Linked DNA regions of Homo sapiens: all the other regions are linked to region 5. The links are contacts of gene promoters, found by promoter capture Hi-C in blood cells and fetal thymus (Javierre and others, 2016). All regions are on one chromosome and are shown on one strand. Each heading gives the region's core, a stretch centred on a gene start or on the middle of the fragment in contact. The rest is flanking DNA. Distances are from core to core; before and after follow the strand shown.

Evidence for each region. The method cuts DNA at HindIII sites, captures the fragments that hold promoters and counts their contacts. A CHiCAGO score of 5 or more calls a contact.
Region 1: a contact is called between a fragment that was not itself captured here and the fragment with the promoter of RRAGB in region 5, in 1 of 17 cell types (total B cells). The highest score is 6.2, in total B cells.
Region 2: a contact is called between a fragment that was not itself captured here and the fragment with the promoter of RRAGB in region 5, in 1 of 17 cell types (naive B cells). The highest score is 7.7, in naive B cells.
Region 3: a contact is called between a fragment that was not itself captured here and the fragment with the promoter of RRAGB in region 5, in 1 of 17 cell types (monocytes). The highest score is 7.6, in monocytes.
Region 4: a contact is called between a fragment that was not itself captured here and the fragment with the promoter of RRAGB in region 5, in 2 of 17 cell types (megakaryocytes and non-activated CD4 T cells). The highest score is 6.8, in megakaryocytes.
Region 6: the fragment with the promoter of UBQLN2 here is called in contact with the fragment with the promoter of RRAGB in region 5 in 3 of 17 cell types (fetal thymus, neutrophils and monocytes); the score reaches 8.7 in fetal thymus.

Annotation. Positions count from the first base shown.
Region 1 is chrX:56,238,135-56,241,973 of GRCh38, reverse strand. All of the region lies in intron 1 of KLF8 (KLF transcription factor 8), which reads right to left. Among named protein-coding and RNA genes, the nearest start is that of KLF8, 7.7 kb to the right of the region's middle. The HindIII fragment of the contact is 6,018 bases long and covers 1-3,839 here.
Region 2 is chrX:56,259,174-56,263,110 of GRCh38, reverse strand. The region is part of intron 2 of KLF8 (KLF transcription factor 8); the gene reads right to left. Among named protein-coding and RNA genes, the nearest start is that of KLF8, 29 kb to the right of the region's middle. The HindIII fragment of the contact is 673 bases long and covers 1,178-1,850 here.
Region 3 is chrX:55,153,495-55,157,816 of GRCh38, reverse strand. The region is part of intron 2 of VCF2 (VCP nuclear cofactor family member 2); the gene reads left to right. Among named protein-coding and RNA genes, the nearest start is that of VCF2, 5.5 kb to the left of the region's middle. The HindIII fragment of the contact is 2,614 bases long and covers 807-3,420 here.
Region 4 is chrX:55,131,143-55,135,173 of GRCh38, reverse strand. No RefSeq gene overlaps it. Among named protein-coding and RNA genes, the nearest start is that of VCF2, 28 kb to the left of the region's middle. The HindIII fragment of the contact is 3,579 bases long and covers 359-3,937 here.
Region 5 is chrX:55,715,918-55,720,218 of GRCh38, reverse strand. RRAGB (Ras related GTP binding B) reads right to left here and starts at 2,470. Exons shown (of 10, transcript NM_006064.5): 1 at 1,800-2,470; 2 at 872-905. The coding sequence starts at 1,891. RefSeq lists enhancers at 1,852-1,981, 2,142-2,341. The HindIII fragment of the contact is 6,209 bases long and covers 1-4,301 here.
Region 6 is chrX:56,560,811-56,564,876 of GRCh38, reverse strand. UBQLN2 (ubiquilin 2) reads right to left here and starts at 1,250. Exons shown (of 1, transcript NM_013444.4): 1 at 1-1,250. The coding sequence starts at 1,003. RefSeq lists enhancers at 254-313, 324-523, 920-1,547. The HindIII fragment of the contact is 11,191 bases long and covers 1-4,066 here.

The DNA of each region.
Region 1 (3,839 bases), core at 540-3,039, 520 kb before region 5:
GTGGAAATAACTCCTCATTCACCTCACAAGATACTTGTAAGAATCAATTGACAAAACAGATTTAAAGGTATTATAGAAACATAATCTCAGATGCCTAGAACCAGTCCCCTTGCCTTGAATCTCCATTGAACAAATATATTTATGTTTAGACAATAATTAATCTTATATGCAATAAGCAGATAAAACTCTTACTATTAAAGAAGGCCATGTGAAACAATGGGAAAATCATTTAACTAGGATCTGGGAGACTTGTATTCTAGATCAGGCTTCACTGTTGTCTAGCAGTGTCATTTTGAGTAAACTACTTAGTCCTTTTCAGATCCCTTCCAGTTTATAACATTCTATGATATATGATTTTATTACAAGGACATAGATGGAAAATCCATAATAATCATCTCAGGTTTCTGCTTAACCTGTGAGATTGATGTCAAGAAGGATTAAGTTTTCTACAAACCATCAGGTAAACTTGAGTCTCATTCCAATGGCATTTAAAAAATTACTATGAATGACTGGGTGCGGTGGCTCATGCCTGTAGTCCTAGCACTTTGGGAGGCCAAGGCGGGTGGATCACTTGAAGTCAGGAGTTTGAGACCAGCCTGACCAACATGGTGAAATGCCATCTCTACTAAAAAATACAAAAATTAGCCAGGTGTGGTGGCACATGCCTGTAGTCCCAGCCACTTGGTAGGCTGAGGCACGAGTCACTTTAACTCAGGAGGTGGAAGTTGCAGTGAACTGAGATCATGCCATTGCACTCCACTCTGCATGAAAGAGCGAGGCTCCATCTCAAAAAAAAATTATGGGTGATTTTAAATGCATACAAAAGTAGACAAAAACCCCATGCGCCTACTCTCAGATTCAATGATTTTCAGCTAATGGTAAACCTTGTTTCATCTGTACCTCAACCCACTCCCCCTACCTCAATGTATATTTTTATGCAAATCCCAGATATATCATTTCATGGCATTTCTTTTTTTAATTTTAAAGTTTGAGGTACATGTGCAGGACGTGCAGGTTTGTTACATAGGTAAACGTGTGCCACACTTCATGGCATTTCTAATGGGACATATTTAATTTTCACAATTGCCCTGTGAGGTAGGTATTACTGTTGATCCCACTATACACATGAAGAAATAGAGTCAATGGGATTAAATAATCCCAAGGTCACATAAACTGGTAAATTATTGAGCTGGGATTGGAATCCAGGTATGATGTTTGATACCAAAGCTCTTTTTTTTTCCTTAAAGTACTTGCTACTACCCTGTACTTTGAAATAGTTTGTTAGAGTTGAAAATAATAATAATGAAGGTGTTTTTATATCTTTGCAGCAAACTCTAATATTGAATATATGTACAGAGTATTAAAAGATTCCCACTAATTATTATGTTAATTATAAAACAAAACCTCTAGGAATTACAACTCCAGCATGGCACTAAGGGACAAAGAGCCACAGCAGCAAAAACTCATTGCTCTGAATCATTATGTAACATCTCATGTGATCCTCTTCATTACTTCATACCTTTATTTCATGCAACAATCTCCTCCAATAAATTAAACATGGTGGTAGTGTGGCAACCACAAATAATTTGTAACAATACAATTGGTCCTCATCCATGTTTTGTGCAACAGGTACTTAAGGGAAGAGACCTTGGCTCTTGAATAACTTTTCTACTCACTGCCTGAGCAGTGGCTCAGGAGCACCAAGACAAGGCATCCTAGAAGAGTCTTGGACCATTTCAGTTTGTAGAGCTCCAGAAAGTGAGGTTAATGCAGTAGCCAATTCAACGCTACACATCTATTCTAGGATCTAGCTACAAAATTAAGGAATAAGTATGTTATTATTCTTTTAGCACCAACTGTTATGTATATTTATCAGAACTAGTTTAACAAACAAGAAATAAATATATTCACATCACATCCCCGCCCATTCTAACTGAAGATGAAACAACCGCATCATTGAACGTATAGGAAGAAACAAGAGATGGAATAATTAGCTCCAAATAATCAAACTTAAATATATGCTCAGCATCATGTAGACCTTTCTGAAGATACTGTACTTTATTTGTGATGTACAATATTTCAAGAAAAATGGCAAATAGAAGAGAAATGCAGAAAAAAATGAAAGAAACTAGAGAAATAACCAATTTTTTTAAAAGAAAACAAAATGGAGCTAGATCAAGAAATGTAGATGATTACATCTGGCAAAAAGGGGGACAGGGAAAAAGAAAGCTGGCCTGATAATTGTCTTCAAAGGCACATTTAGGTATTTGGAGAAAGTAGAACTACTATGTCATTTACAGGACATCATGGTTAACTTAAAGGGGAACTTTCTGATGATAATCAAGTCTTTACCAAGACCCTACTAAATAGTCAACACTGTAGTAGATATTATGTGGGAAGGAGGGAGGAGGTAATACCAGAAGGAAGAAAACTTCATGGTCTCTGGCCTCTATCCTCAGTAAATTTGCAGTCTAGGTCAGATAGAGAAAACTGGCAGCCCACTGCAGATGTTGGCCTGGTTCTCATAGTGATGTTAAAGATTAAAACAGAAACATCTAACAACCTTTCAAATGCAGATTTCATGTTTTAAGAAAAAAATCCTATTTCTTGCTTTTCTAAAAAAGCTGAGAGATTTTATAATACAGAGTGTACATTGGCACAAGGGAAAAATTAGCTGGAGATGATCAACAGCTGTCCCCTTTAGACAGGGCATGCTTTTCTCATTTTACTGGGCCCTGGAGATTTAAGTTTGAGATCCCAGGTCCGTGTGATGAGAAACAATTATGCATAAAATAATAGCAATCAAATATTACAAGATAATAGATGCTGCATTGCTGGATTATGATTTGAGGCTATGAGCAATAATTGGGAGAGGAGGAGATTACTGAGAATGGAATAGTCAGAGAAAATTTCAAATAAATGGTTTGCTTTGAGGTGGGCTTTGAAGAACTACGACAGTCAAGAAGAAACAGAAAGGAAATCCAGACGAGAGGAAAAGTAAACTGCATACTCCATGAAGGCAAGGGTCCCACCTAAACTGATAGTTTACCTAACCTAAAGTGGTAAGTTTACCACTATCACCTCAGCTTCTAGCATGATGCTTCCAACTTTGTAGACACCCAGTAAATGACTGTGGAGTGAAGGAGAGTAACATAATTTTTAAAAGTGTTTTAAGGAATATATCCTTGCAGTGGTCCTCAGAGTAGAGAGGGCAGAAAGAATCAAAGTAGAACTAGAAGCTATTGGAATATTCTATGAGTACTGCGGTAAGAGCTTACATAGGTGCCATAATCTCAATATCTAGACTAGGGGTCAGACAGGTTAAGGCCACCTAGGCCAGATGAGTAATGTGGTGAACAAAAAATACAAGTACTGTTTTAAAGGGGAGGGAGGGAGAGGCTCATCAACTCTAGGCAATTATTGCCAAGAGAGAATGCTGGTTCAGTATCTTCTGATTAGTCAAAAGAAACTGGAATTGAAGAATTTTTGTTTTCTTTTGAGACGGAGTTTCACTCTTGTTGCCCAAGCTGGAGTGCAATGGTGTGATCTCGGCTCACTGCAACCTCCGCCTCCCAGGTCCAATCGATTCTCCTGTCTCAGGTTCCTGAGTAGCTGGGATTACAGGCATGCACCACCACACCCGGCTAATTTTGTATTTTTAATATAGATGGGGTTTTACCATGTTGGTCAAGCTGGTTTCGAACTGCTGACAGGTGATCCTCCTGCTTTGGCCTCCCAAAGTCCTGGGATTACAGGCATGAGCCACTGCGCCCGGCCTAGAATTCTAGAATTTTAAGGGAAATCTGATTTTGAAATATTGGCAATCAACCAACTTTTAA
Region 2 (3,937 bases), core at 265-2,764, 540 kb before region 5:
TAAGCTCTTATTTTTCCTACATTTCCCACATAACTCTTCACTTGAGTAGCTCCATTCCCAGATTAAAAAGATAGAATCCAAGGAATCTTCAAAAGAAAAAATGTTATCTCTTTCCATAGTCTATCATTGCTGTCAATAACAGTGAGAAATAGAGTTACAATAGAAAGCATAAGAAGAGGTTCAGTGTAGGGCGGGCGCGGTGGCTCATGCCTGTAATCCCAGCACTTTGGGAGGCCAAGGCAGGTGGATCACTTGAGGTCAGGAGTTCGAGACCAGCCTGGCCAACATGGTAAAACCCCATCTCTACTAAAAATGCAAAAATTAGCCAGGTATGGTAGCATGCACCTGTAGTCCCAGTTACTCTGGAGGTTGAGGCAGGAGGATTGTCACTGCCCTCCAGCCTGGGCAACAGAATGAGACTCTGTCACACAAAAATAATAATAATAATAATAATAATTCACTGTAATATCATTTTCTGTAAGAATATAGTTGTGGGTGCAGGTGTATAAATAAACACAACTTGCCACTGAAATTAAGAAAAGATTTAGCTAAATTTTAGGGACTTTTTGGACTAAGAAACCTGAAAAAGCTGAAGCTTTGAATCCTAACTATAAAATAAACACGACTTTGGCAACTTTTACTCTCTTTTGCCAAAGAAAGGCCATTTCAGTGAGATGAGTGCTGCCTACAACAATGTTACTAGCTCAAGGCCTTGTGTTTAGCTGATACTTGATCTGCAGGTATGCATTTTATTGAAAAACATTACGTAGGAACATCTAAAATGGAAACTGATTGATGAAAGTCAAGAAACTGAAGAACTGATAGCCTATTCTTATTGCCTTGATGAGATACAGTGTTACAGGGTCCTGCTCCAACAGGCCATCATTAGTTGTCCTTTCATAGACTAAACCTATTTTGTGGTTTGCCAATTCTTAACCAAACCCTGTCTGCAGCAGGGCTTCAATCATTACTTCTCTCCTGCCATCAAAAGGCTTTGAGAGAAGTGTTGGAAGGGGAGTTGTTTGGGTTTTAGTATCTTAATAGTAACTTCCTCAAAGCATAGTGTCACATACTTTTTTCTGTACATATCACTCCCAAGTATGCCTCTTATGTCTAAGTGAATCTATCTTGTAGCAAGTATTTTCTGGGTGTAAATATTGTCTTCTGAATGCAAGCTTTCTTAAGAAAACAGACTGTTCTCAAAAGTAGGTCTCAAGGTTGACCTTACTGTTCCTTCCTTTGTGGCTTAAAGACAAGCATTCCATATCTACACACTATCAGGGTGAATAAGTTTTGTTTGTGTGCACTGAGGATTCTTTTTTCAATATGATCAAAATAATTTTAATAAAAATATTGTTATACAGTCTAACTTATTCCATAGTTTGAATATAACCCTCCCTATGGTTAAAAAAAACCCCAACACCCTATTTGCTTTACCTTATCTTTATAGATAGCATATTATGCTTGAAGGTTCTGAAGAAGACCTTCAAGTCTTGATTGAGTGAGTTTTTGTCCCTAGAATTTTGGTGATTTTAAGAATCCTCACTAAGATGACTCAGGATGGCTACCTATTTCATGCTTCATTGAATATAATCACTTCAGCTTTGAAACTCATCTGAGGATTGTTCTGTCATCAGATTTTTCTTTTAAAGTAATCTTTCTTCATTTTTAGTGTGGTGTGATGGCTTCAGTTTTTAAGTGTTCTCTAGTCAATCACTATCAAAGAGAATAGCTACTTTCCCCATTTGCTATTTTAAGACTTTATCCTGAATTTCCGGATTTCTGAATCTATGAAGAAGGTTGTGCATGAAAGAAAACAAAGAAACTTAGGGGTGGTTTGAAGACAAGCTTTAATTTCCACAGTGCTACTCCTCAAATACCCAGAATCCTTATCAGGTTTCCTTAAGCCAATTTGAGTGGACAAAAAAATATAAAAAGAGTTATTTATTCATATATTACTAAAGATGAGACCCTTTCGGTTCTTAGGAAACACCCCTCTCAATTCTAGAAATAAACTCTGAGAAAAGTTGGTTAATTTCACAAATATTTAAGCATTTGATTAAGATAGGTAGAGAGGCCCTGAGAATCAGTGGAATCAACTGTTACAAAGTTTCCATTTTTCATGTATTTGAAACAGCTCTGATGTGGAGCTTGAAAGTGGTAATGCAAGATTAGAAATGAAGAACAAAATACTATATACAGCACAGTAGGTGGAAGGAGAGGAAGGGATGTTATAGAAACACGATAAAGCCTAGGCTCCTCCCAAACAGAAAGAGGAAACCTGTTTTTGTAAACAGGTACCTTCCAGCTTTGCTCTGGGTTAAACCAATTAGTTTTATGCCTGGATACATATGCACACATGTATTGTACACATTCATGTTTAGGTCAAAAAGTCTGTTTAACCTTCTAAAACTCAATTCTTTTTCCAATAAGAGCATTATCTGTTTGGGTATTAGAAAATGGAGCGGTGGATGGAGATGGGTATTATTAGAAACCTAGACTTAATCTAACAAACCCGGCAATTTTAAGAGATTGGGATGGTAGTAGCCACAATCAGGCAAAATGAGATCATAAATGTACAAATGTATGTACATATGTATATGTATGCATATATTTGTTCACTAGGTATTTGCTTAGTACCTAGCACAAAACTATAGAAAATGTGAAAAATACTAAATCAGTTTTTGTTTCTCAAAGAATCTAAGGTTGTTTTTGGGTAATACATGGATGAAGTTATTTTATTTTAATATTTATGCTTACTCTATTGTACTGTACATTGGAAAATATATATAACACATTGTAGTGGGCTGAATGGTGACCCTCAAAAACACTCGTCTACACCTCAATTCCCAGAGTCTTTTTGGAAAAAGTATCTTTGCAGATGTAATTAAAGATCTTGAAGAGATCCTGCTGGATTATCTGGGTGGGCCCTAAATTCAATGACTAGTGTCCTTATAAGAGACATACAGAGGAATAACGCACAGAGCCACAGAGGAGAAGGTAATGTGAAGATGCAGGCTGACAGTGGGGTGATGGGGCTACAAGCCAAAGAATACCTATATGTACCAGAAGCTGGAAGAGGTAAGGAAAAGTTTCTTCACTAAAGCCTTCAGAGGCAGCATGACCCTGACAATAACTTGATTTCAGATTTCTGGCCTCCAGAACAGTGAGAGAACACATTTCTCTTGTTTTAACCCACCTAGTTTGTGGTAGTTTGTTTCAGCAATTCTAGGAAAGTAATACTTCACATCAAACCGAGAATTCTCCAGATAGCTTAGGACAAAACTAATATAGATTTATTTATTTATTTATTTAAATAATTTTAAAGTATGTAAATAATATTGATGGCAAGGATGTGGCAAAAATCGTGAAAGTGGTAAGTAAATAATTGAAGTTTGGGAGACAAAAAATATTACTGGGGAGACAAGAGATATTTACATAAAGCAGTTGACAATAGAGAACAGGTACCACATTAGTGACTAATACAGATAATTTAGTGTTCCAGGAGCATGATTTCACTAGAGATTCGAGACAGTTGGGGTTTTCTATGTATGTTTCATGGAAGAGGTAGAATTGGAATTTGAACCCTAAGAAAAGTAAAGAGTTTGGTGAGCTATACTAGCTCACTGAGGCACAATCCATGTAGAAAAAACAGTGTGGGGAAAAGTGGCACAGAAATGTATGAACCCTGAGAAAGCAGCCCAGCTTTAAAAAAAGAGAGGAAAAAAAAGAAAGGTATGAGCCAGTTAGATAGTATCATGGAAATATTGTTCATTTTCTTGGGCGTGACAGTGCTGATGTAGTTATGTAGGACAATGTCATTATTTGTAGGTGATGCATGCAGAATAATTTAGGGGTAAAGTTTCTTGATGCAACTTACAATAGTAATAAAATGGGGGGAGAGAGAGAGAGAGAATTAGGCTGTGTGAAAATATGT
Region 3 (4,322 bases), core at 864-3,363, 560 kb after region 5:
TTATGTAGATATACACACAAGTGGCTTATCTGGAGCAGATCTCTGCCTTTTTCTCTTCCCTACTGTATAGAGTAGGAAAAGATTTTGTGCCCTAATGCTACAATTCCAAGGGGGCAGCAGAAATAAGACAAATGAGAGAAAAACAGAACTAGGAGGCCCCAAATACATTTAAAATTAGAGGTCTATGAATCCTGTTATTTTTCAGCTGATAGGAAATCTCCCCTTGTCAGGTTATCATTTTAAGTAATATCAATTCAGATGACAACTGGGGCATTTTTGTTTTTTTGAGACAGTCTCACTGGGTCACCCAGGCTGGAGGTGCAGTGGCACGATCTCGGCTCACTGCACCCCCACCTCCCGGGTTCAAGCGATTCTGGTGCTTCAGCCTCCGGAATAGCTGGGATTACAGGCATGCACCACCATGGCCGGCTAGTTTTCGTATTTTTAGTAGAGGTGGGGTTTTTCCATGTTGGCCGGGCTGTTCTCGAACTCCTGGCCTCAAGTGATCCGCCCGCCTCGGCCTCCCAAAGTGCTGGGATTACAGGCATCAGCCACCACGCCCCGGCTTTGGTGAAATTTTTTGAAGAACATTTTCTCTTAGGTTCTTAGTAGTTTGGAGTCATTCTCATCACGTTTGATCACATAAATTCTAAGAGACAGAACTACTTTGGGAAACATTTTTGGGGATGAAATCGTTGTTGAACAATGTAATGGTCATCAGATGTGGTTTTAAACCCTATGGCAAAATGGGAACCTTCTGAAATTAGCTTCTACTTAAAGATACATTCAAAATGGAGGAACAAGCTTTTTCAAAGATGGCCTAATCTATTTTGTACATTTTAAGAAGCCGTGTTCATGGAGCATACTAAACATCCCAAGCACTTTCATATTGCAATTGAATCTTACAATCTCAGTTGTTTTAATGAATTGAATATGTCCACATGTTTTTCTGCAGGTGAGGATTACCTATCAGTCTTTTTTTTTTCATTTTTGTTTGTTCAAATCCCATTTACTGAATTGAAACAAGGTGAGTTGTATAGATTTTTAAATAGTTGTATAGATTCTATTATAAATTTAATTTTTGAGCTGGAAAATAACTTACAACTCAGTGTCTGTTCTAACTTCATCTTAGGAGGGAAACTAAGCTACAAAAAGCATTGATTATTTACCCCATCAGCACAGAGAAGTTAACACATGAATATCATTACCTTGCTAATTTGGAAAGTGGTTGTAATTCAACAACCTAATTAATTTTGTATTTTACAATTCATAAGATTCCACAATGTTTCTAGTATTAGAGAATGTGTACACGTCATTTTAAATGCCTTGGAACTTTGGGAGCACATATTTTAAGTGCCCTCTGATGGATTTGGTTAGGATCATCTGTTTTACTTACTCAAGTTTCTACAGGTGCCTTTGAATAAGCATCATATTATTATTCCAGGGATAGACTATGTATTAGGAGTGAATGTTTTGTTGTGGAGGTTCACATAAAGGAAAAGCTGTAAGGCATGGAGGGATGGAATTGAGAGGAAAGCTAGGGCTTGAAAGAAAGTAAAATACTGGGCCAGGCGCAGTGGCTCACGCCTGTAATCCCAGCACTTTGGGAGGCCAAGGCGGGTGGATCATGAGGTCAGGAGTTCAAGACTAGCCTGGCCAATATGGTGAAACCCCACCTCTACTAAAGAAATACAAAAATTAGCCAGGCTTGGTGGCGCGCACCTGTAGTCCCAGCTACTCGGGAGGCTGAGGCAGGAGAATCGCTTGAACCCGGGAGGCGGAGGTTTCAGTGAGCCAAGATCGTGCCACTGCACTCTAGCACTCTAGCCTGGGTGACAGAGTGCGACTTCCTCTCAAAAAAAAAAAAAAAAAAAAGAAGAAGAAGAAAGTAAAATACTGGGTTCATCTGCTTTTATCATTAAAAAGTGTTATATAATTTTATATCATGAATACATGCATGAATTTCTGCTCTGTTTTTGTGAAGATATTCTGTAACTAATATTCCTCCTCATCTCCTCAGTTCTATTTATCCTTCATTAGCCTGCTAAGGTTCTCTTTTCACTCCCTAACTAATCTTGTGTCTAGTTTATTTTTCTCTCAAGTACTGTGTCTTTTCCCTCTCTTTTAAATCCAAACTGTAATCTGCATTCACTCCCTTTTGTTTCTCACCTCCATTCGTGCTCAGTAAACCTTAGCTCCTCCATCCCCTCCCTATTCCTTTGCTGTAACATGTCAGGAAACATCTGAGACTTCCTAAATTGCATTACCAAATATTTACTGAGCACCTACCATTTGCCAATCATTGTCCTGGGTGCCTGGCATCAACTTAGTGTCTCTGTCATTTCCTCAATGATTCCTTTCTATTCTACCTCTGCGTGTATCAAATATATCCCTTTCTTTACATTTCCACCATCCTAATTCAGGCTTGCATTGCCTCTTGCTTGATACATTGCAAAATTTCCCAGTGATTTTTGTGGTCTCATCCACCCCCTATTTCATTCATCCATTAAAATGCTCTTCCTAAATATACATCTGAGCATTTATCTTATGCTCAAATACCTGTTTGTACAGACTTCTTAGAGTAACATTCAAGGCCCCTGATAACCTAGCCGTATCTTCTCTTGCATATTTTAGCTCTCACTAACTCTTCTCTGGGAGATACCAGCCACATCATCTGTGGCTTTGTCTCCTCAAGAACTCTTCTTCAGCTTGCTTGTGCTCTTATTGCTCTCTCCATTTGTCACACCCTTCCTATTAATATTCTCTGTATCTTTGAAGGCCTAGCTCAGATGCATTTCATTTTAAGAAGCCTCCTCTATTTCCCCAGTCAGCATTCATTGCTACATTCTTGTCATTGCAATAGCTTGATGCTGTCATTCTCAGAGTACTGTATGCTTCTTGATTAGGCTCAAGAATTACCTGTTGAATCCCTAAGTAGCCCAGGCAAAGTGCCTTCTTATACATTGTATAATAGACATGCGAATATTTGTTTAGATACTGCTTGGGCATCAGAACAATCTGTGCCTACTTGACAGCCTCTCAGAGGTTGGGCCCCAGCATATGCACACGAGTCAAAGTGTTAGAAAACCACACGGTGATTTTGATGCCTATTCTGAAACAGAATGTATTATAGCAAATCCCTGCTGGCCTCAAAGTTTCTTTGGTTACAGGTAAGTATGCAGATTTCTTTATGGCCCAAACTAACCTAAATCCTGCTTTTTCACACAGACCTGGACCCCAGGAGTTTTGTAAAGTGCCTTTGTGAATTTTGCATAATGAGATCCCCTTCTTTAGAGTCTTCATAAATATAATTTTATTTTGCTATGTGTGTGAATTTGCAAGGGCTCTATTCTTCATTTGCCTTGCACAGATATCAAGCATTAAACCTATATTGAAAATTCAGACAAAAAAGAATAAGCTTTGTAACTGTCAGATAGTATAAGCATTCTGGTAAGACATTTGTATGAGGATTCAGGAGGATGGTGAAGATGTTTTATATATTATGAGCCTTTCCAAATACTAAAGTGCTTAAAATCTCATTTATTCTCTGATAAAAGAATTTGCACTTTGGGAGGCTGAGGCAGGAGGATCCCTTGAGCCCAGGAGTTCAAGGCCACAGTGAGCTGCAATTGCATCACAGCAATCCAGCCTGGGTGATGGAGCAAGAGCTTGTCTCTAAAAAAATAATAAAATAAAGTGTATTAAGGTTAATGCTTCTGTACTAAGATAGCAGTTTCAAGTGTCAAAACCATACACCATCAAAAGCAAATTTTCCTCTTAATCATTCTGATAAACGGTCCATTAAGTGGGATCTCACATGAAACAGATTCACAAGGTAAGTGTGACAAAGCCCAGGTTGCATAATATAGGCTATGTTTATTAAATAAACAGCATTATTAGCCTAGAAAATGCTAGTGTATATGACTTTGTAGATGCTCTTTACTAGGCTAAAGGAGGTTAAACCCTCTTCCCAAAATCTCGGTTATGGAATCACAGTGCTTTTTAAGTCTTTGCTTTGAAGTCAGAAGTAACTGAATCCATAAGCAGGAGATTTTACTTGGTTTTGTAGTAGCATTCTTTAGTTTGCCTACTTAAAATGTTTCTTTTTCACAAAAGAAATATATTTGTAGTGGATGAGTTAGAAAGTGAAGATACAGGACGGGCGCGGTGGCTCATGCCTGTAACCCCAGCACTTTGGGAGGCCGAGGCGGACAGATCACAAGGTCAGGAGATCAAGACCATCCTGGCTAACATGGTGAAACCCCATCTCTACTAAAAATACAAAAAAAAAAAAATTAGCTGGGCGTGGCGGCATGCGCCTG
Region 4 (4,031 bases), core at 899-3,398, 580 kb after region 5:
GTTTCATGGCTGTATGGAAGGGCAAAGAATGATGTCAGAAGAAAGAAAAGCAATGCCATTTCTCTGCATCTTTGGCGAGCAATTTGGAGCTATTTTTGTGTGATGACTTTGCATTAAGTTTCCTAATTCTCAGTGTGGAAGGTCAGTATGATTGAATGAGAGCTGACCAGCAGTGCTATAAAATTCCACTATTTATTTTCTACAGCTTGATAGCACCTTCCTTCACTCCCATGGAGAAGCAAGCTTAATTTTGTCATCTCACATGCTAGTTAACAAATATGGTAGATGCCTTTTCTCAGTTTTTTTTCTTTCAGTTCTCAACAGCATGGAGCCCTATTCACCACCACTCCTGGAAGCTTTCTCCTTCCCTTCCCTTCTCTGATCTTCTGCCTTACTACTTTTTCTCTTGTCTCTTTGAGTGCACAATGGAATTCTTTCCAAGCTGTTCCTCTTTGCCACACCCCCACTGCAATGGGCTGAATGTTTGTGTCCCCTCAAAATTCATGTATTGAAACTCTGATCCCAATGTGATGGTATTAGGAGGTGGGGCCTTTAGGAAGTGCTTAGGTCATGAGAGTAGAGCCCTCATGAACAAAATTAAAGCCCTTATAAGAAGTCAGAGAGCTATCCACCACCTAGGAGTACAGCAAGAAGCCAGCAGTCTGCAAGTCTAAGGGGGGCCTCATAGAACCCTGATCTCAGACTTACAGCCTCCAGAACTGTGAGAAATATGTTTCTATTGTTTATAAGCCACCAGCCTATGGTACTTTGTTATAGCAGGCAGCCAAACTAAGACACACACCCTATCAAATATTTCTTGAATTCAGTACTTAAGCCTCTACTCATTTTAGTCTATCCTCTCTGCCTCAGGATTCTCTTTCCTCAAACATTACTTCTAAGCACATGACTACTAGATGTCTATTGTTGTCCTCACCACTGCCTTAAATTCCAGATATGCATTCCCTTCTCCATGCTGAACATTTGCTCCAGTAAGTTTCTCTGTCAACTCATTATCAGTATAACTAAATCAAAATTCATCAAGACTACCCAAAATGTGCTTACATTCCTTCATATCTCAATGCATCCCACTACCATGTCCCTAGATATTCTAGGCCCTCCTTGACCTTCCAATTGTTCCTTGGATGTCTCTTCCCTATAATTTTTCAGTTACTACTTCCAGGTCTCAAATTTAGATCACAATCATCTCACGTTTAGATTAATCCAATAATATTCTAGGGGTGGTTTTCTTTCTCTGTCTCCTCTTGTCTTTCCTTTCTTTGCTGCCAGATTAACCTGATGCAGATGCCTTTTGGGTCATATTTTTGGTCAGTTCTAAAAGGGCCCCACTACTTTATATCTTACTTGGTGGTCAAGGCTTTCCTGGCCCCAGTGAACCCCTTCAGCTGTATTTCCCATTACCCTCTTTCTTCCAGAAACACTTACATCAAAACATGAACTGAAAGATATCAGGCTTCCCTTTATTTTGCAAATTGCACAAAGACTTTTATACCATAAATGTGACACCACTGACACTGCATAATCTTGCCTCAATCCATCCATTCATTTGTCTGTCCATCTCTCTGTCTATGGATGCATGAAACTATGATTCCATCCACATACCTATCCAAGAAATGTTTGGAGAGTGTCTATAGGCCATGAACTAAACCAAAGTGCACACCCTATTAAAAGCTCCAATATCATCCTGTGAGGCAGGGCAAGGGATCCCCTGAAGGGACCTTCCTCCTAATTTCAAAACTGGTCCTCTGTTGTCTCTTCTGAGCCCAGTCACCTACTTTGGAGATTCTGTGACATGTTTTCACCACGACCTACCTCGTCAAGAAAAGCTGTCATATACAACCATGTTTTCATGCATCTTTCTGGATGCTGGAGCATGGAGTTCTCCCCACTGCCAATACCAAACACTACAAAATCCCCAAATGATTTAAGTACTATATATCCACTTAAGTGATGCTTCTCAACTCACATGCATCCTGGAACAGGAAGTACAACATCTAAACCCTTGTTTGAAGTTGTACAGTTTTTTTTATGTCAAATCTTCATATCTTGGTTAAACCTCCCTCTCTGTTGTAAAACCGTGTCTCCATCCATTCCTTCATATGATTTGTCTGTAAGTATTTATTCAACACCCAATTACCTGCCTTCTGATTTGTCTGGACCATGTTAGAGACCCATGGGACTTCATTTTGCTAAAATCAAAACCAAGTATACTTAATTTGCGAGGTCATGTTACCAATTACCTGCCTTCTGATTTGTCTGGACCATGTTAGAGACCCATGGGACTTCATTTTGCTAAAAACAAAACCAAGTATACTTAATTTGCGAGGTCATGTATGCCATGGTAAAAATGAAGCTCTCCATTTCTCTCTCATAAAGATTGTGCTGGGTGCCCACTGGGGCATGAGGATCAAGAAGACCTGTAATAAAGCTGTTGCTCACAAGCAGAGCCTGTGGGTCTGATACAAAGGAGCCTGAGGTTCCAGTATTACTGGGCACAAAACTGTCTTGGTCTGTGTTTCCCTTCTGAAAAGACAGATGGTCAATTTCCACTCTGTGGAAATCTTGGGCATGTGGCTAATGTTCTAAATATATAAAAATGCAACCCATGCCTTGGACTCTCTCCATCTGTGATAGGCATAGGAGTCCCAACCAAGATACTTCTTTGTGTGGGAGCCAAGTAAGACCACTAGAATCTCCCACTGGAGTCCTCCATGTAGGTTCTTGCAAGATGCTCTGACCCATAGGGTCACTAGCAGGATGTGTGGTTGCTGGGATAATTTCTAGTTCTTCATCCTTGTCCCAAGGCAGCTCTTCCTATATGGGAGAAAATGCCCATATGAGGTGGCTCTTCTTTCTTGAAATAGATTTTTCCAATCAAGTTATTTGGTTTCCATCTGAAAGTCTGTCAAAAGAGCAGGAAACACCAAGCTGTGGTGTTGTGAGAAGATTATCCTGTTGGCCATCTCTATGCTTAACAGTGTCCCAGAACGGCTGCAAGGTCCTTATGCAGAAAGCTCGCACTAGACTTGTTCTGTCCCCTGGAGAGTGGCCTCATTTCCATCTATCCTTGGCATATGAGAACATACCATATTGGAAGCCTAAAGTATATTCATTCACCTATGTTGGACATGTTTGAAAACATGGCTACCACATGTCTCTGTCTCCTGAACACCTGTGCTGAATAATGGAACCAATCTCAGGGACTGAAGGGACAAAAATATTGGGGAAACCAACCAGAGAAAGGGCCTGACAAGCCCATTACTACATTGTGTATGTGTGTGTGAGTGTGCGTGTGTGTGTGAGTGCGTGTGTGTGCGCGTGTGTGTGTGAGAGAAAGAGGCAGCATTAATGAGAGAGAGAGAGAGAGACAGTTCTGATCATTATGCAGGAATCTAGGGGCCATTTCTGAGAGTGTATATTGATAAGTAATAGATAAGAGCTCAAATCAAATGGCACTTACCAATGTCCAGAATGTCATATCCTGAACAAAAACCAAAGAAATACTCAGGGCCAGGAGGGAAGATGACAGCAGGGCCACGAAGCAGGGCTGAGACTTTTGGTGGAGTGTTAGTGCAAGTTGAATTGAACTCAACTATGATTGGAAAACTGCAAGAAGTTTCACAGACTGATCTATCTGAATAAAGGAGCTGGCCATGCCTTTTTCTTCTCCAGGTGTCCTACATAAAAAAACAACCTACTGAAATAACTTATTTCTCTGGATTTCAGGTTCTACCTTTCTGCATTACATTAAGCTAGTTAATATAACCATCACCTCAAATATTTAACATTTTTGTTGTTCAAACAAAATTAGAAATTTACTCTTAGTGATATTAAAAAGTACAGAATGCAATCATTAGTTATATTCGACATAATCATTAGTTATATTCGACATACTGTGCAATTGATCTAAAATCAAGCTTATTCCTCCTGTCTAATTGAGGCTTTGTACCCTTTGACTATTGTGGCCCTATTTCTCCAACCCACCAGCCTTTGGTAACTACCATTCTACTTTC
Region 5 (4,301 bases), core at 1,221-3,720:
TCTGTACTTTTAGGCATTCTCAATGAAAGCAACTTCAGACAGGCTCATCAAGAACATTCTCTTAGCAAACTGTAGTTACAGAACTGAATTATTAGATGAAGCTAAGGCTAAATATGGTACATTTCCTTCGGTTATTAATTTATACAGTGTACCTCTTTCAATTGCCTATGAAAGACTTACCAAGGCTAATCATGTTAGGTACTGATCTAAGTGTTCTACAGGCATTTACTAATTTAAACGTCACAACAATCTTACGATACAGTTAATATTATTACTACCATTTTACAAATGAGGAAACTGAAGCCCCAAAAGGTTAAGAAATTAGCTTGAGCTGCACTCTTAGCAATTCTGCCTAAACCCCAACGTAGGGCACAGTACTATGAGAGCACAAAGGAAGGTGTGTCCAATTCTATCTGAAGAACTCAATAAGACCTTATAGTGGTAACACTTGAGTTAGGTTAAAAATAAATGTGCAGACAGAGGCCTGTATGGTGTGTGTATATGGCTTACACAAAGTGCAAATTAATTTGTAAATCTGGAGAACAATAAATTCTGTAGGGCTGTGATAGGGTGCATAAGTGTGGCACAGGGTTTGGTCAGGAACAGATTTTAAAGGGCCATGAAATCATTTGGATTTTATTCCATGGGCTTAAAGAAGTTACTAAAGGTTCTTAAGTATGTAGATGACTCAGTCGGATTTTCATATTAGAAAAATTAAATCTGATAGCATACAAGGAGAAGAGAGTCAGACAGACCACACAGAAGGCTCCTGCAATAGTCCAGAAAAGATGGTGTATATATGTCACAAAGTTCCTGAATATCAACTTCTTACCTTTACCTTCATGGTTTTGACGTATCTAACACGTCTTACCTTTTTCTTCATGGCTGTATTTGGTAGCACCCACCTGCAGATATAAACCAAAAAACAGTTTCCATGATCCAATTCCCTTAGAAATTGAAATTAATGAAGTATAAATAAACATGGAGGTACAAAAGAGCATGTTTAGTACAACGGCTGAGTACAGCTGTGTGTGTGGGACCTCAGATGAATAGAGGTCCCATTTTCCTAAATTATAAAACTGTGTGTATACTCTCTATCTCCTAATTAGAAGTTCAAGAGAGAACTCCTAGGAAGATTTATTTAGGAATACAAATGAGCCATTAAAATTCAAGATTCAATTTTTCATCATCTTAATCAAAGCAACACAGCTGCTTTAATCAAACAATATCTTCTATTTCTAAAAAAACAGAATATATTGATATCCTCTACTTGAGGACTGAGTATTGAATATCTTCTATGTATAAAAAACATTCAGCCTCCTAATTTTAAAATCTGGAAGTATCTTTTTAGTCCTTCAGCTGTCCTTCCAAGCCCTATTTCACTCATCACAGACACAAAGTAGATGTAAGTCTCAAATTCAGGTACAAATTGGCACAGAAAACACCCTCAAGCTCTGACCTGGAAATGCAAATCTTCTTTCTAGTCTTTCCATCCCCAACCTGGTGACAGCAAATCTCCTTTACTGATAATTCAAAGCAACTCATAACTGCTTTAATTAGAACACTCCCCCAGCACCACCACCAGGAATATCAGCCCCTTCCCAAGGGTTGTTTCTGATCAGTTAGCACCAATTCGCTTTCCAGTTTATCCTGTCGTCCAAAGCATAATCCCAATCAACATTACTGGTAAATCAAAGCAATTTATCATGGTGCGGGGTGGGGAGAAGTGTTCTAATTCACAATACTCTCTTCAATTTGAACACCCCCACTTCCAGGTTTCACAAATACCCTTCACCCACCCAAGCGATCCTTCCGGTTCCCCTAGTGGTGGATCCATTCTCGGCCCCAGATTTTCTTTCTCCGTCGTTTTCTCAGAGTCAGATTCTTCCATTGCGCAACAAGTCCTTTCCAGTCCCTTCTAAATCTTCAGTACTCTTCAGGGTTTGTTGTTGTTGTTTGTTTGTTTTCTTTTTCACCCCTCAACTGCCTATTCTCATCGCCTATGGCCCTCAGGCCTGCTCTATTCTTGCCTCCGCCTTTGTCCACTGGGGGGCCGCTTTCCCCACGGTTACCTTTATCTCTCGAACCTGGCCTCAAGGCACGGCCGAGCTGGCTAGCTTTAAGGCCAAGTGATTCCGTGGTACAAAGTAAGAGTTGGAGAATGACAGGAAAAGAGAGGTGGGTTAGGGGTTCGTCCCGAGTTTGGGCCTCAGGCCCCCAAGGTCTGGAAACCCAAAGGTAACTTCACCCGCAAAGAGGTGAGGACCGCGAAGGCGGAGGTGGCAGAAAGAGCTGACCCATGCCGTAGGCACTAAGCGGAGAACGCCTCAGCTGGCTCGTGGCTTCCGAGCCCGGCCGCTCGGAGAGTCAGCCGGCGGGGGCAGTAGTTACGACCTAACCACCCGCCCTTCAGGAACCCAGGTATCTCACCGCAGCCACCCAACTGCAGGCCAGGATCACGTGGGCATCTGCCTTACCCCGGAGTCTGTCACGTGACTGCCGCTACCAAAGGGACGGGTGGGCTGGGAAGAATACCATAGAGACAGCTCCAGGAAAGCCAGAGTGCCGTCTGTCATCATCACGTGGCCTTGGCTCAGGCTCCGCCCCTCGGGCGGGGTAGGGCGCTGGGAGCCTTCAGCCTCTCTAATGTGGGTGGGCCTGGCCCCACCCATCCGCTATGGAGAATTAAAGGAGCCGGTTGCAATTTCAGTGCCTCTGAGCTTCTCTTTTTTACTGCTGGTTACCGGTAATGGTTTTTGACTGGGAAGACCGAGCATTGTCTTTGCCTTCCTGCTTTTTATTGTTAATTCTTGCAATCGAGTTTGTAATTAAATGATTAATACATCCAAAGCGCTTAGAACTGTGTCTTCCACATAGCAAATACTGTATAAATTATCGTTATTGCTGAAACCAGGGATTCATCAGGAATTTTAACACACACATTCATCTTCCCACTTGTTTAAAACAGGAAGTGAAGGAAGTACCATAGTAAGAAGTCAATAAATAAAGTCTAGGGCTGGGAGTGGTGGGTCATGCCTTTAATCCCAGCACTTTGGGAGGCTGGGGAGGGAGGATCACTTGAGGCCAGGAGTTCAAGACCAACCTGGCCAACATAGCGAGACCCCATCTGTAAATAAGTGAAGTCTAGAATTGAGAACAGAAAGACTACTGGTAGGGATATGCACACCAGGAAAAATGCCCAGAGGGGTTCAAAGATGTTCCTTCTGGAGAATGGGGTAGGGGATAGGACGTGATATGTCAGGGGACTATTATTTTTTATCTGAAGCCCTTCTGTGCTATATATATTTCTATAATGTATAAATGATATATAATAATAAGATTAATATGACATTTAATTATATTTAATATAATCAACTAATACTTAAATAATATGTTATAAATATGTTATTTTAAATAAATGTGTAGTTTAATTATATTATTTATAATTAATATATGATATACTACATGTATTATTTACACGTAAGTGTGTACATATATTACTTTGATAAGAAAAAAAGGGAAGGAAGGAAGAGAAACTGCAGGAAACAGAGTACTATTATTGAAACTGCCTTTGCAAAAACTGTAACTGAGGAAATTATGACAGTGAAAGAGATCAGACCTCACCGACTCCATCTTACATCTAACCTTTAAGGTGTCCTTGTTCATTCCTGGGCGTAGGCCGAACTAACCTTGGGAAGGAATTTAGTTTATAGTTTAACTCTGATACAAAATTGATAATAGCCCTTTCTCCCTCCCGCTGCCCCCCACTAAAAAAAAACAAAAAAACAAAAAAACCTTCTTACCTGGGAACCAGTCGGCCTTTGCAGGACTAACAAATTAGCCACAAGATTACAAGATTAGAAATTACAATTCAGGGGCCATGCAGCCTCCAGCTGCAAGAGTCTGAACCTCCCCAAATTGCTCCCAGGAATAACATCACTGTTTTAAAACCTAAGATCACTGTTTGATATGTTTTGCAGACCCTGCATTCAGATGCACCAGCTTATGATACAGGAGCGGGGCAGGAAAGTGCTGGGCAGAGAAAGGCGGGTCCGTGGCTAGGGCTCCACCCTGGGGCCTGTGCCCATGGACCTAGGTGAGGATAGGCACTCCTGCCTTCCCACCCAAATGTTATATTCACCCCTAGAGGTTGCCATGGGGTCGGAGCCCCACAGCCTGCCCCTCTGCATGCTCCCCCTAGAGGTTGTGAAGCAGTGAGCCACTCCCGCTGTGGCATGCCCTGCAAGGGGGATAGGGGAACTTCCCTCGTTTCACTTACAGCACCCAGACCAGTAATCTGG
Region 6 (4,066 bases), core at 1-2,500, 850 kb before region 5:
TCGTGCTGGTAGTTGCAGAACTCTGGGTAGCTGGCGGTGGTGCCCATGGATTGGGTAGTGGATCGCGATTTTCTGTGCGGGAAGGCTGCGTACCTTCCCCAGAGGAGGAACTACTCCCCACGGAGGCAAATGGATTACCCCCAAACTGCTCTTGTGCGGCATTCAGCATCGGCTCTTGAATGTCAGTGTACATGCGCCGTAAAGCATTATAGCCACCTGGGATGCTTTCTAGATTGCTAAGAGCCAGGTCTTGATTTCTCATCATCTCTTGCATCATGGCTGGATTCCTGGCAATTTCGAGTGTCTGCCTCATTATGTCTGGGTTGTTGAGCAGGTGACTGATTTCTGGGTTTCTCTGAATCAATTGCTGCATCTGTGGATTAGCCATAATGAGCTGCCTCATCAGATCGGGATTCGAAAGCATGCTCTGAACAAAGGGATTTTCCATTATTTGGATCATCATCTCAGGGCTGGCCATAAGCTGCTGCTGCATCTGGCTCTGGAGCTCAGAGAAGTTGGTCGAGCTCAAGCCCAGGCTGCTAAGGCCTGCAAGTCCTCCCAGGCTCCCCAACCCAAACGGGTTGCTATTTGTGGAAATAGGTGTGGAGTTACTCCTGGGAGTCGACGCCGAGGTAGTGTTAGTTCCCGCGGCATTGCTAGGCTGCGTGGACTGGCCCTGAGGTCGGTTCTGGCTTTTGATGACAAGGTGAACAGTCAGCCCATCATGGATGCCATGCTGGATCAAGGTATCTTGATCTTTTAAGATTTTTCCGGCAAAAATCAGCACTAGCTGATCGGTTTGGGATTTGAAGCGTTTCGAAATCGCTTCCTTAAACTGCTGAACCGAGCTGTTCTCGGGCACCGCGAACTCCTCTTTCTCTTTGGGAGTCTTCACCGTGACTTTGATGATTTTAGGCTCAGCCGGGGCAGCAGCCGAGCCTTGGGCCGCAGCAGGGCCGCGGGAGGGGCGCGGGGGGCCGCTGCTCTCGCCATTCTCAGCCATGGCGGCCGCGGTGACGCAGGCGGGCAGGGAAGGCGCGGGCGGGCGAAAGAGAGAGCGCGAGGGAAGGAGGAAGGAAGGAGGCACCGCCGCAGCGGGCTGGGCCGGGTCAGGCGGGGAGCGCGGAGCACGGTACCTCTGTGATGAAGACTGCGGTTCCCTGGTCCTCCGGTGGAGAAAGGCCTGGGCGTAGGCCGCTGGCTGAGGTCTCCGCGCTCCGGTCTCTGGGCCTCCTCCGCCGCCGCCTTGTGATCCGACCGCGCGCACTCCCAGCAACTCTGGCAGCCGCTCCGCCTGCTGATCCCCGCCCCTTCCCCTCCCCCAGTTCCGCGCTCGCCTCCCCGCCCCCTCTGCTGACGCGGCGCCAGGCCTAGATTGATAGATTTGGCTCGGTCAAAATTAAAAACTTCTGCACTGAAAAGAAAAAAGGGAGAGAGAGAAACAAAGGGAGAGAGAGAAGAGAACAGAACAGTACAGAGCAGGCGAGGCAGAGAGGGTGAGACGGAGAGAAGGAGGCGGTAGAGAGTCAGCTTCTGTAAACGACATTAAAAGACCAATGGAGAATGTATATTAGCAATCTGTAAGGCAGTAAAAGGGTGAAAGCCTGAATCGAACAGATCCCACGTATAAGACGAAAAATGAATAATAAAGAACTCTGACAAAGCAAAAAGAAAAGAGGAACACCTCCAGTAGGGGAAGGGAAGAAGACAGAGCAGGAGCGTGCATTTTACAAAAGGAGTGCAAATGGCCAATAGACATTAAAAAAGGATGATTAATTTCACTACTAATAAAAAGAAATCAAGTTAAAACAATAAAATTCTACTTTTGGCTTATCATATTGGCAGGGAAAAAAATAATGGTAAACCTTCTTGTTGACAGGGACCCTAAAAAATGCCCTCTCAGGCTAGCTGAAGTGTGAATTGTTACAACCATAGGGCAATTTGAAAATATATATCAGCATTTTGAATGTTTCCACCTTTATTTAGAAATGCCTAACCTAGACACTTCGCCTAATAATCGGATGAGGATGCAAAAATATTTATGTATAAAATGTATATACATTGTAGCATTTTAAAATGTTATTTAAATATATTAACTATCTGTTTACATGAGATTAGTTGAGCACATTATCATATTACCATACAAGAAAATATAGAGTGTCTTTAAAGGTATACATGAAATAAACTGTAGTTATAGGGAAATCACAGAGTATTTTCAATTATGCCTTTGTATATTTCTGTACAGTTACAAACTATATAAGAATATATGTTCCAATATCAAAAATACAATAAATATATTTTTATTTTAAAAGCAATTTTTGAACAGTTTGTTGTATATGTAAACCGTATGTGTAAAAAAATCTGGAAGGCTATGCACAAATAAGTTAATGGCTGTTAGTACTGTTTGCTGAAATTATGAATAATTCTTATTTTCTATTTTCATAAGATTTTGAATTTTCTGATGATTTTTGTAAGTATGCACTACAGAAAGGTATTTTGGGGAAGAGTATGGGTAGAAATTGACAGGCACATAATAGTAGTGGCAAACATTGACATATTTACCTAATTTAATTACAGATTAAGTAAGAGCAATAAAGATGTAGCAATGCTGAGAAAGAGAACTTGAAAAATAGAAGAAATAATTTCAAATTTATCTATATATTTCTAACTCTAGGTTAAACCACACAGAAAATTCTTCCCCAACCCCCACCCTCTACCAAGCATCCACCAAAGCACCACTGCTTTCAACATTTAACAGCATTTCAAAGTCATTAGGTCACAAATACTTTAATAAATCTGAAGATAAGAAAAATATATATATACAGGTATGTTATATCCATCGATGGAGAAATGGAAGAATTAATATTATTTTACCTCTCTATTTTATTAATATAATTAATAAAATACAGAGGTAAAAAGATGACTAGCTTTAAATATGTTAATATGTATAGATCTAAAAAGCCAAATTAATTAGTATTAGGTTGATGCAAAAGTAATTGCGGTTTTTGCCATTGAAAGTAACGAATTGTTACTATTATACAATGGTTTTTGCCATTGAAAGTAATAGCAAAAACCGCAATTACTTTTGCACCAACCTAATACATGCCAAACAGCACTCTAATACATTCTTATGTATATTTGAAATATTCTTTTAGAAATATACCAAACTTGCACCCATGAGGAAGAGGAAATGGAATAGGATACAGGATAGTGAGTAAAGGGAACTTAAATATGTAAAAATGCTTTTTATCTTTAAAATGAAAGCAAATATGATAAAATATCAGCAATAGTTAATTATGGGTGGTGAGAATATGAAAATATTATAGGTAATCTTTAATTTCCATAGAATAAAGCTAGATATTAATAATCAAAGTATGAACAAAAAACCAACCATTTGATTATTAAAACATAACTGAATACTTTTGGGGCAAAGTGCAATGTTCTTATTAGAATAAATTTACAAAAATAATGATAATGAGAGCATATACAGCAATACTAATGCTAGGATTTTTCTACGTGTGATCTGAGAACATTGTTAAGAATGCATGTTTCTAGGCCCCACGCCAAACCTACTGAAATAAGTGGTGCACTGGAAGCTGCATTTGTATCAAGGTCCAGTTTAATATTATTTCATTTATTAAGTACTATGTGGATGAACTCAGAGTCAAATTTATACATTCAAAGACTTAAAATATCAAACAACAGATTGAAAATAAGGGAAGTAGGCATTCGAATAAAGAAGGCAACGGAAAATAAAAGGAGGGAAGTGAGGTGACAGCTATAGAATGATAAAAGCAAATATTAATGAATTAACAAACAGAAAAAATAAAATTTGTTAAGTAAATCTAAGAAAGTATTTGAAGAATCAAGTCAAATACACAAATCTTTATTAATTGGCGATTGTCTTGGCTGACAATTCCCTCACCAAAATACACATCAGAGGGGCAAAACCATACTCACCCTCTTGAGGAAACCTTCCAGAAACACACTTCTTTGCATTATCTTTCTTTACCTTAAAAATTATGTGATTGTGATTTTTTGACATTTTACTTCAAAATATATTACT